Linked DNA regions of Homo sapiens: region 2 is linked to region 1. The links are contacts of gene promoters, found by promoter capture Hi-C in blood cells and fetal thymus (Javierre and others, 2016). All regions are on one chromosome and are shown on one strand. Each heading gives the region's core, a stretch centred on a gene start or on the middle of the fragment in contact. The rest is flanking DNA. Distances are from core to core; before and after follow the strand shown.

Region 1 (5,654 bases), core at 1,912-4,411:
ACTAGATATACTTCTTAAGGGACTCAGAATATTAGAAATTAAATTTAAAAGTGAATTAAAATTCACTTTTAAATTTAAAAAGATCAAAAACTGATGTCCTCCCAAGACCGGCTGACTTCAGGCCTTCCCGCCCTTCCTAATCTCCAACAAGTTAAAGAAACCTACCAAGCACGTTTCCTCTGCAATTCCCACCACATCCTTACTCCCCAGTGGGTTGTTATCACAACCCTGACCATCTTAAGCTCTTCCCTTAAGAACTTCCAAATAGTAGCCATTTCAGTCAAGAGGATCAGCAAAATTCTAGAACCCAACCTATATGGGGAAGAAGCAGAATACAAAAGAAAGAGCTATTATTCCAAGTCAGGGAAGCTGCTAAACTCAGTCCTATCACTCAACAGCTATACTACACTGAGAAAAGAATTAACTTGAGCATCAGCTCACTTATCTGTAGCTGTGCTATGTTACTCTCAAGCCGATGATCAGCTAGCAATACAATTCACAAACATATCTCCACCACCACAGTAAAACAGGTATTTGTCTGCAGTTGATAATCTAGCATTACTCCATAATCACCAGGAATTTGAGGGCTTTCAGTTGTTTCATAAGCTAAATTCCAAGGAACTTATTCAAAGTTCCTGTTATGTTGGGTCTAAGATTAACTTTGTTAATAGCATGGTAAGGTTTCAAAGGATTAAACTGAAAATGAATCACAGGGGTAAAACGGGATTTACAGGAAACACTTGGAGCCATTGAGTGAGGGGAGAGAACAGACTTTATTCCATGAGATCTAGAGATTCCCAGCACTGCCTACCTACTAGAATCACCAGAGGAGTTTTAAAACAATACCAATGTCTGGGTTCTATCCCAGAGACTGATTTAATTGGTCTGGAATAGGACCCCAACACTGGTATTTGTTGAACATTCTTCAAGTGATTTTAACATTCAGCCTGGCCTGAAAACCACTGATTTAGAGAGTTGTGAATATTGGTCTTTTGCATTTGACAAAATCCCTTCAACAAGATTTTCAGGCTTTAGCTAAAAAAAAAAAAAAAGGCCAGGTACAGTGGCTCACACCTATAATCCCAGCACTTTGGGAGGCCCAGGCAGGTGGATCACTTGAGGTCAGGACTCGAGACCAGCCTGGCCAACATGGTGAAATCCTGTCTCTACTAAAAATGCAAAAATTAGCCAGGCATGGTGGTGCACACCTGTAATCCCAGGTACTTGGGAGACTGAGGGCAGGAGAATTGCTTGAACCTAGAAGGCAGAGGTTGCAGTGAGCCAAGACCATGCCACTGCACTCCAGCCTGGGTGACAGAGACTCCGTCTCAAAAAAAAAAAAAAAAAAAAAGGCCAAAATATAATTTGTAAATGAAACTTCCTCCAGTGCCTAACACAATGTGTGTTAAATGCTTAGTACAAGGCTTTCTGGGTTCCATCATGTGACCACCATACTGCAGAGCAGACCAGAACTGCTGATCACCGTGAGAAGCAAACACAAAGGTCAGGGGCTGAGTGGTTTGGCTATTTTTCTACTGTGAGACACAACATTTAAGAAAACTAAGTGACTGCTCAATATCATACCTGCATAATACCAAAGAAAAGTAAACAGAAGGTTGTCAAGTTAACAGGATTCTTAAAAAAGCCAAACAATTATAAGCATTTATTGTAACCCATTCTGTGTAGTTTATCTCTAAAAGCCTGAGTGTGTCTATTTCCACCACATAAATATAGATTTCATAATAACATACAAATCCTTTTTAGCGAGATTTGCTTTTGAAAACATATCCTGAACCCTCAGGTCAGGTACAGCTGTCAGTGTCGTGGCGTCTCCTGGGTGGTTCCATGCTCTTTTCAGCAGCCCAGCACACTGGGCCAGAGACAGGCAACAGAGCCATCATGCTTCAAAGAGGAGCCAAGTGCTGTATTCTGAGCCACCGAATTCCAGAAAGAACATCCTTGGGAAGCTCACCCAGCCCCAGCATAGTCTGCCTAGTAAGTGTCTCTCCTGGGCCTCACCTACAGAGAGGTGAGGCTAAATGGGGACTGGGCAAGACGGCCTTTGAGGTTCCATCCATCTTTTAAAGTACACATGTCAGTCTTGCTTTCTACCTCCATGAGCAGGCTTTGGTAAGTGGAAGTTCTCATCTGATATCTAGTAACAATTGATTCTTTGAACAGCTAATTCATAAAATAATCTTAAATAGTTAAAACATATATAACATCTAATTATCTAAATAGGCTAACTCCTTAAAAGGGGGGCAGGGAGGAAAAGGATAAATTTAATTCTGCTCATTAGTGGACTTCAGTGCACCAAATTAACTTCACATTAGTCTGTGAGTTTAATAATGACAGGTTTAACCATTGCAAAGCCTTCTGGAGTCCCTGTTTCTTTGCGTTGACCTTTTTATTTTTGACTAAAAGAGAGGGAAAAACGGTAAGACATTAAAAAAAGCATGAACAGGGAGGGGGGAGGGATAGCATTAGGAGATATACCTAATGTAAATGACGAGTTAATGGGTGCAGCCCACCACCATGGCACACGTATACATATGTAACAAACCTGCACGTTGTGTACATGTACCCTAGAACTTAAAGTATAATAATAACTAAAAAAAAGAAAGCATTAACGGAAACCCACCTAACTGTGGAAACAATATTTCATTGAAAAAGTTTTCATTAACCATTTGTAACTTCCAAGTTATCTTAACCAAATAAAGATTTAGGTACTTAAAAAAAAAAAAAACAGGAAGCTAATTCCAACACTTTTCTTCCCCTTTGACAGAAAGTTCCTTTAACTCATGCCAACAGGCTATATTTATTTCCCTTAAGCAGCACTTCCTAGGAAAGCCGCGGCAGTCTTGCAGCAAACGGCATAAGAGAGCTGATGATCCCGGCAGCAGCCCAACCTCAAGAGCCCCAGCGAGCTGTCAATGCAGTTACCAAGCATGAGAGCCACCTGGGCTCCACACCAATCGCACACTGTTGTTACCTCAGCCGGAGATCTCTGGGCTGCTATTGGAGACCAACACCTGGCACCAGACCAGATACGGTGTCACACCCAGCAGCGCCTAAGAGACTACTGTGCCTCATAAAGCTTTATGGATGCCTACAGGGAGAGAAGAAAAAAAAAAAAAAAAAAAGGCAGGTATTCTTACTTATCTTAACCCTGTCCAGAAAATCTGCTGAGTCACCGAGTATCAATCAAGAGAAAAATAATGCAGAGCTGCAAAATGCTAATCTCCTTCCTCCTGCTCTCCTTCCTAACAGCAAGCCGACTCACAGGTAATACTCTTGACTTGGAAAACACAAGGGCATAGACAAATTCACACGTCCTTAGTCTGTAAAGAAAAGCTTTCAGGAGCAAACTCTAAAAGTACAATGTACTAGACAAAACTATTTTATGAAAACAATGGCTGTCTCTGGGTAGAGGAATTAAGGGTGGTTACTTTTTTTCTACAACTTTACACACTTTGTACATTTTCTATAATGAGCCCATATTTCTTTCCTAACAATACATCTTCGAATCATTTCTGGTAAGAGATTAGACCCACATCTTTGATCCCTAAGATACAACTTGAGCTCACCAAAATATTTCAAAGCATTAATTATGAAAACTCCAACCAAGATTAAAGGGTCAGCCTACCACAGAACTAAGGAAATACTAAGTAAGAGCCCTGGATTTTATGAATACTTGCTTTGTTACCTTTCCTAGACACAGGATATTCTAATTTGGTAGGAAGAAAATCCCACCAATGACACACTTTTGAGAGAAGGGGAAAAAATAACTAAAGTTCATGTGCCAGTAATAATGGTACATGAACTTTAGTTTACTTCTGCTTTTTTTTTTTTTTTTTTTTTTTTGAGACAGAGTCTTGCTGTTCCCCAGGCTGGAGTGCAGTGGTGCGATCTCGGCTCACTGCAAACTCTGGCTCCCGGGTTCAAGCGATTCTCCTGCCTCAGTCTCCCGAGTAGCTGGGACTACAGGTGCATGCCACCATGCCCAGCTAATTTTTTGTATTTTTAGTAGAGGCAGGGTTTCACCATGTTAGCCAGGATGGTCTCAATCTCCTGACCTTGTGATCTGCCCGCCTCGGCCTCCCAAAGTGCTGAGATTACAGGCGTGAGCCACCACGCCCGGCCCACTTCTGCTTATTTTTCCATTCTTCCTTCTTTCCCAGATTAGACATGCTAATGAAAAACAAGGCACCCTTACCTTTGCCTGAGAGCACTAAGAAAACAAACCACCACCACAATAAAATAAAGCTCATAAAAGCATCTGACAAGCTTTGTCTTGCTTTTGCTTAAATATTAATTTAAAGCAATTAAAATCCAAACTCCTTGGCTTATTATTCAAGAACACACATGCCCAGGCGCAGTGGCTCACACCTGTAATCCCAGCACTTTGAGAGGCTGAGGCGGAGGGATCACCTGAGGTCAGGAGTTCAAGACCAGCCTGGCTAACATGGTGAAACCCCATCTCTACTAAAAATACAAACAATTAGCTGGGTGTGGTTGCATGTGCCTGTAATCCCAGCTACTTGGGAGACTGAGAGAGGAGAATCGCTTGAACTTGGGAGGCGGAGGTTGCAGTGAGCCAAGATCGCACCACTGCCCTCTAGCCTGGGCTACAGAGTGAGACTCTACCTCAAAAACAAAAAACAAAAAACAAAAAAACCCCACACATAATGTGAAATTCACTGAGGTATTGCACTATAGCTAAGACTTCACACATTTGATGCTCAATACCAACAAGGACTAGGTATCCCTATCCCACAACTCTTTCTTTTGCCTGGCAAGTTCTTCATTTCTCCAAATTCTATCCATTCCTCAAGTTTCCAGCCAAATGATACCTCCTCCTAAAGAGTTCCCTGAGAGAGAAGCACTTTCTCCTTTTACTAATTCCCACAGCATCTAAATTACAGTCATCTATGTAGAGTACGTGTTGTGAGTTTAAGCTTCTATTGGTGGACAAGCAGGCCCAGCACCAATTTATCTTTATCTGCACCAGACCACTCGGTTCAGTGCTGTGCATGCATCTTGAAGAGTGTTCAAATATTTGCTAAATTTAAAAAAATGAATAAACACTGACTGCATCTTAAAAAAAAATCAGGGCTCGTGGAGTCATATGATCTACATGTGCATATATAAATAGGATTAAAAAAAGGAACCATGCCTGAATAATCATGCCTCAGGCAAAGGAACAGTGTTTAGGAGCAGCCTAGGTATAAAACTTCATGTTAGCTGAAGTAACGCCAGCCTAATGCCAGCCAAAGTTAGTACTCAGGCTCAAAGAACTAACAGCAACAGAAACCACCACTTTATTAACACTTCAGGATTAAAGGATGCCTGCTAAGCCTCAAATTGTGTGTGGCCACAAGCATTAACATTACAGTCCCGAAGAAAGTGGGTAGATGTGCGAATGCTTTATTTCAACCCTAATTATTTCTAAGCATACGTGAGAAATTATAAATATTTGAAGATGTGACTAATAGAGCAATTTTTCCAAGTCATATTCCAAAAGAATGATTTGGTCACAATACTGAGAAATGGGCAAACCATGTAATCTGCATCTTCACTTACACCTTGAAGAAGAAAAGCACTGGCCTGCTCAAAGTCAGAACTTATTCTTTGGTGCTTTGCTTCTGACTTCT
Region 2 (5,654 bases), core at 694-3,193, 140 kb after region 1:
AGTGAGGAACTAGCTGCAGAGGGATGAGTGACCACCATCCAGGCTGAGACTGAAAGGAGCAGAGGCTGGAACTACAGTATTCTTTCCCCTGCTAGCAACCATGTGCCTCCCATCCTGACTGTGGAGTTGGGATGTGGAAGTGGGGCTGGAACAAAGCTTCTGCCTAGGGAGGAGCTAAGCAGGCCCGGCAGTTGGAGGAAGGCCAGAGGAACAGCTTTGTGCTCCGGCTTTCCCTCAGGGAACAGCAGAGAGCAGTTGGCTCTTTCTGCTGCTTGTATATGTTAATATTAAAAGAGAGAGTGGTGTATTTGGTTTGTCTCCATCCCTGACTAATCAGCCAGTGAAGTATGTGACCAGAATCACATGATAGCCTTTCCTTAACACCTGGGGGAGAGGGAGGACGGGTGTGCCAGCCACTAGGTGGTACTGTGGTACCTTGCTAATTAACCTTTCCCATGGCTCATGGGTAGTGGAGGGCGGAGGTTCTTTTCCAGCCTCTGTGGACCAACTTGTGATCCTGGGGTGGTGTGCCTAAGCCCGTTTCCATAGAGTCCCATTTTGAACACTTTTCTGCCAGAGGATTATGTTGCCAACCATATGTAAAGCCCATTAGACATGCCAGTTCCTTTCACATGCCTTTTCCAGTTGATCTGGTACTCGTTCTGTCAGGAAGCTGGGCCACGCTTCATCAGAAATAAGGAAATCAGCTCAAGGTCACATGACTCTTGAGGGGTAAAGCTAAGGACTTGACCCTCAGAATCCAGAACTCTGTCCTTCAGCGTATTGTGTTTCAGTGAAGGGAAAATTGGCCCCACAGACAAATATAACCCAGAGCCAGTAATGGAGGTCCCAAGAACACAGGAAGGCCATGTGAAGGGTGCTTTCCCTTGAGAGTGTTTACTATGTGACAGGCAAGCAGTTTTCACATATTGTTTCATTTAATCCTCACATGAGCCCCATGAAGTCTTATCCCCATTTTCAGATAAGGTGCCTGAAGCTCACAGAGCTTCCCTAGCTAGTAACTGACAGAGCCAGGTGTGATATTGGACTCTTGACCTGGAGCTTGTTACTTTGCTGTATTGCTTTAACCTTAACCAAAAGAGACATGCCTTTCTGTCTTTTCTTTTTGAGTTCCTTGTCTTCATATAGAGTGAGTCAACAATTCTGGCCGCGTGCAGTGGCTCACGCCTGTAATCCCAGCACCTTGGGAGGCTGAGGCAGGCGGATCACCTGAGGCGAAGAGTTCGAGACCAACATAGCGAAACCCCATCTCTACAAAAATACAAAAATTAGCTGGGCATTGTGGCAGGCGCCTGAAATCCCAGCTACTCAGGAGGCTGAAGCAGGGAGAATTGCTTGAACCTGGGAGGCGGAGGTTGCAGTGAGCCGAGATTGTGCCACTGCACTCCAGCCTTGGTGATGGAGCGAGACCCTGCCTCAAAACAATATAATAATAATAATTTCCTTTAGTGGTACTTAAACGGTGGCTAATGTGACTGTTGTAACAAGTGATGCTCTACCCCCCCATCCCTACCGTCCCAGATGTTACAGAACAAATGGTTGCCTTTATTCATTTTAGTTGGATAGAAAGACATAAACTGGCCTAGGCGCGGTGGCTTACGCCTGTAATCCCAGCACTTTGGGAGGCTGAGGTGGGCAGATCAGCTGAGGTCAGGAGTCTGAGACAAGCCTGGCCAACATGGTGAAACCCTGTCTCTACTAAAAATACAAAAATTAGCCAGGCGTGGTGGTGGGTGCCTGTAATCTCAGCCGCTCGGGAGGCTGAGGCAGGAGAATCGCTTGAACCCAAGAGACGGAGGTTGCAGTGAGCTGAGATCACACTATTGCATTCCAGCCTGGGCGACAAGTGAAACTCTGTCTCAAAAAAAAGGATATAAACTGAGGATGGGCTGACTGAAGTCAGCTTGTGGGTATGAAGGCATCACTGGAAAAGGAAAAGACAGGCTGGCCAGGGTTTGGCTTAATTTTCTAGTAAATCTCAGTTTCTGTCTTGTTAGGTATAGGATCTAGTGTCTAGTATGAAGATTCTGGCATTATGGCATGGACCTAGTACAGTGAGACATCCCTGTATCTGTACTGAATGTATAGCAGAAATCAGAAGTAGTCTACAGAGCTTTTTCAGAAAGAGAGATTACTTCCAGTTAGGGTGATTAGGGAAGGCTTTACAGAAATTTGATGCTGGAGTGGCCTAAAAAATAGAAGAGGCTGGAAGCATGCATTAAAAGCAAAACAAAAACTTTCCAGTTAAATACGGAAAATTAAACACATGAGCCTTTATGCCCCCTCCAAAAATTCTATTGAAATACCAGTAAAGGAATTATTTTAAAAAGGCACGTGCTGGCTGGGCTCAGTGGCTCACACCTGTAATCCCAGCACTTTGGGAGGCCGAGGCAGGTGAATCACCTGAGGTCAGGAGTTCAAGACCACCCTGGCCAACATAGTGGACCCCCGTCTCTATTAAAAATACAAAAAAGCCAGGCGTGGTAGCTTATGCCTGTAATCCCAGCACTTTGGGAGGTCAAGGTGGGTGGATCCCCTGAGGTCAGGAGTTCGAGACCAGCCTGGCCAACATGATGAAACCCCCATCTCTACTAAAAATAGAAAAATTAGCTGGGCCTGGTGGCAGGTGCCTGTAATCCCAGCTACTCAGGAGGCTGAGGAAGGAGAATCGCTTGAATCTGGGAGGTGGAGGTTGCAGTGAGCCGAGATCGCGCCATTGCACTCCAGCCTGGGGGACAAGAGCGAGACTTCATCTCAAAAAAAAAACCAAAAAACACAAAAGTTTAGCCGGGCATGGTGGGGGGCACCTGTAATCCCAGCTACTCAGGAGGCTGAGGAAGGAGAATTGCTTGAACCCAGGAGGCGGAGGTTGCAGTGAGCCGAGATCATGCCATTGCACTCCAACCTGGGTGACAAGAGCGAAACTCTCAAAAAATATAATAATAAAGCCACATGACCCAGTGATAAGGAAAATAGGAGGTGACAATGAATGAGAGATGCCAACATTTTGGAAGATGAAAAACAGAACAGTCAACAGTCACTTAACAGAGTAGAATGAGTTGGGTTCTACCTGCTGAGGGAGTTAATGGCAAGAAGTAAGCCAATGTGCCCTTCTGAACCCATAAAAGGTTCAGCACCTCAGAGGAGGGTATGGACTGACGCTGAGAACTAGGGGTGGGGTGGAAGGAGATTACACGATGATCTGTATAAGAAAAAGCCCCACCAAGTCCCAACCTCATCTGATCCAGCCAAGTGATTACCCCTACTCCCTTGCATAAAATGGGAGATTCCGTCTCTGGAGAAATGGTAGGGAGGAAGTTAGCAAAGATAGACTTAAGGTTTCCTAAGCCCAAAGGTCACAAGTTTCCAGACCAACTGTCCATGAGTGCCCAGCATAATGAATGAAAAAGCCCATGAAATTTCAGAATGTCCAGGGGAACTTAAACTATCAGAGCCTCTGCATTCAGCAGCAGGCATAGTGGGGATAGAGGTGAGGTATTAGATTGAAAATGAAGAATTAAGTGAAAATATATGAGCGGTGAGACTCAACATCAGCACACACTGACAGAACCTCCAGTATGAAAAGAAACAACTGCAGGGAAAAAAATGCCTATGCATACTGACACTGACATTTTTGGTTTCTTCAACAACAAAATGTCAGCTTTCCCCCCACATGATCACCCTACAGTGAAGCCTATTCATTAATAATAAAGCTTGTAAATAGACTGAGCTTCCAATCCACTTTTTGGTATCTCACTGTTAAATATGAATAGACAGCAAAGGACCATTAAACATCTGAGTAACCTTCCAATATGAAAGACCAAAACAAACAAATAGAAAATTGAAACCAAGGAAACAATAACAAAGTAGGGAGCTTTCTGAAAACTTCATGGGGAAAAAGCTACAATAACTATTCTCAAAACTCAAAGAAAAGATATTGTGTCTATGAAGTACTTTAAAAAGGAAGAATTGGAGAAGAAAGAGTTCTTAGAAATTAAAAATAAGTAAACTAATTCCTTCTCTTGAGAATTGGAGGATTCGAGGACCAAATAGCAGGGTAACGTTTCACTGTATTTCCATTCTTACATACTTCTTGAATCTTGAATCATGAATATATTATCTATCCAAAAAAAAAAAAAAAGTAGTAAAGGATCAATCCATAAGGCCCAAAATCATCTACTGGGCTGCGGAAACAGAATAGGAAAAATCGGCTGGACGTGGTGGCTCATGCCTGTAATCCCAGCCCTTTGGGAGGCCAAGGCAGATGGATTGCTTGATGCCAGGAATTTGGGACCAGCTGGGCAACATAGCAAGATCCCATCTCGACAAAAAATTTTAAATTATCAGCCAAGGGTGGTGGTGTGTGCCTGTAGTCCCAGCTACTCGGGAGACTGAGGTGGGAGGATCACTTGTGCCCAGTTCGAGGCTGCAGTGAGCTATGATCACACCACTGCACTCCAGCCAGGAAGACAGAGCAAGACCTTGCCTCCAAAAAAAAAAAAAAAAGGCTGGGTGTGATGTGACTCACACCTGTAATCCCAGCACTTTGGGAGGCCAAGGTTGGCAGAGGATAACTTAAGCCCAGGAGTTTGATACCAGACTGGCCAATGTGGTGAAACCCTGTGTCTATTAAAAATACAAAATTAGGCCTTTCCTTTCAGTGGAGCGTGGCGGCAAGATGGCTGTGCAAATTTCCAAGAAGAGGATGTTTGTCACTGATGACATCTTCAAAGCTGAACTGAATGAGTTTCTTACTCAGGAGCTGGCTGAAGATGGCTACTCTGGAGTTGAGATGCAAGTTACACCAACCAGGACAGAAATCATTATCTTAGCCACCAGAACACAGAATATTCCTGGTGAGAAGGGCTGACGGATTCGGGAACTGACTGCTATAGTTCAGAAGAGGTTTGGCTTTCCAGAGGGCAGTGTAGAGCTTTATGCTGAAAAGGTTGCCACTAGAGGTCTGTGTGCCATTGCCCAGGCAGAGTCTCTGCGTTACAAACTCCTAGGAGGGCTTGCTGTGTGGAGGGCCTGCTATGGTGTGCTGCGGTTCATCATGGAGAGTGGGGCCAAAGGCTGCAAGGTCATGGCGTCTGGGAAACTCCGAGGACAGAGGGCTAAATCCATGAAGTTTGTGGATGGCCTGACGATCCACAGTGGAGACCCTATTAACTACTACGTTGGCACTGCTGTGTGCCACGTGTTGCTCAGACAGGGTGTGCTGGGCATCAAGGTGAAGATCATGCTGCCCTGGGACCCAACTGGTAAGACTGGCCCTAAGAAGCCCCTGCCTGACCACGTGAGCATCGTGGAACCCAAAGATGAGATACTGCCCACCACCCCCATCTCAGAACAGAAGGGTGGGAAGCCAGAGCCATCTGCCATGCCCCAGCCAGTCCCTACAGCATAACAGGGTCTCCTTAGCAGCTGTATTCTGGAGTCTGGATGTTGCTCTGTAAAGACCTTTAATAAAATCTCATACAAAGACAAAAAAATATATACAAAATTAGGGCTGGGCATGGTGGCTCACACCTGTAATCCCAGCACTTTGGGAGGCTGAGGCGGGCAGATCACCTGAGGTCAGGAGTTTGAGACAATCCTGGCCAACATGGTGGAACCCTGTCTCTACTAAA

Evidence for each region. The method cuts DNA at HindIII sites, captures the fragments that hold promoters and counts their contacts. A CHiCAGO score of 5 or more calls a contact.
Region 2: a contact is called between a fragment that was not itself captured here and the fragment with the promoter of ABCC5-AS1 in region 1, in 1 of 17 cell types (erythroblasts). The highest score is 5.2, in erythroblasts.

The regions. Positions count from the first base shown.
Region 1 is chr3:184,003,177-184,008,830 of GRCh38, forward strand. It overlaps ABCC5-AS1 (ABCC5 antisense RNA 1), which reads left to right and starts at 3,162. Exons shown (of 3, transcript NR_046570.1): 1 at 3,162-3,285. The region is part of intron 2 of ABCC5 (ATP binding cassette subfamily C member 5); the gene reads right to left. LOC124909468 (a long non-coding RNA gene) reads right to left here. Exons shown (of 2, transcript XR_007096191.1): 2 at 5,299-5,654. RefSeq lists a silencer at 3,841-3,890. The HindIII fragment of the contact is 257 bases long and covers 3,096-3,352 here.
Region 2 is chr3:184,145,005-184,150,658 of GRCh38, forward strand. It overlaps EIF2B5 (eukaryotic translation initiation factor 2B subunit epsilon), which reads left to right. Exons shown (of 16, transcript NM_003907.3): 16 at 1-307. It also overlaps the pseudogene RPS3P3. Among named protein-coding and RNA genes, the nearest start is that of DVL3, 7.5 kb to the right of the region's middle. RefSeq lists a silencer at 338-387. The HindIII fragment of the contact is 3,578 bases long and covers 155-3,732 here.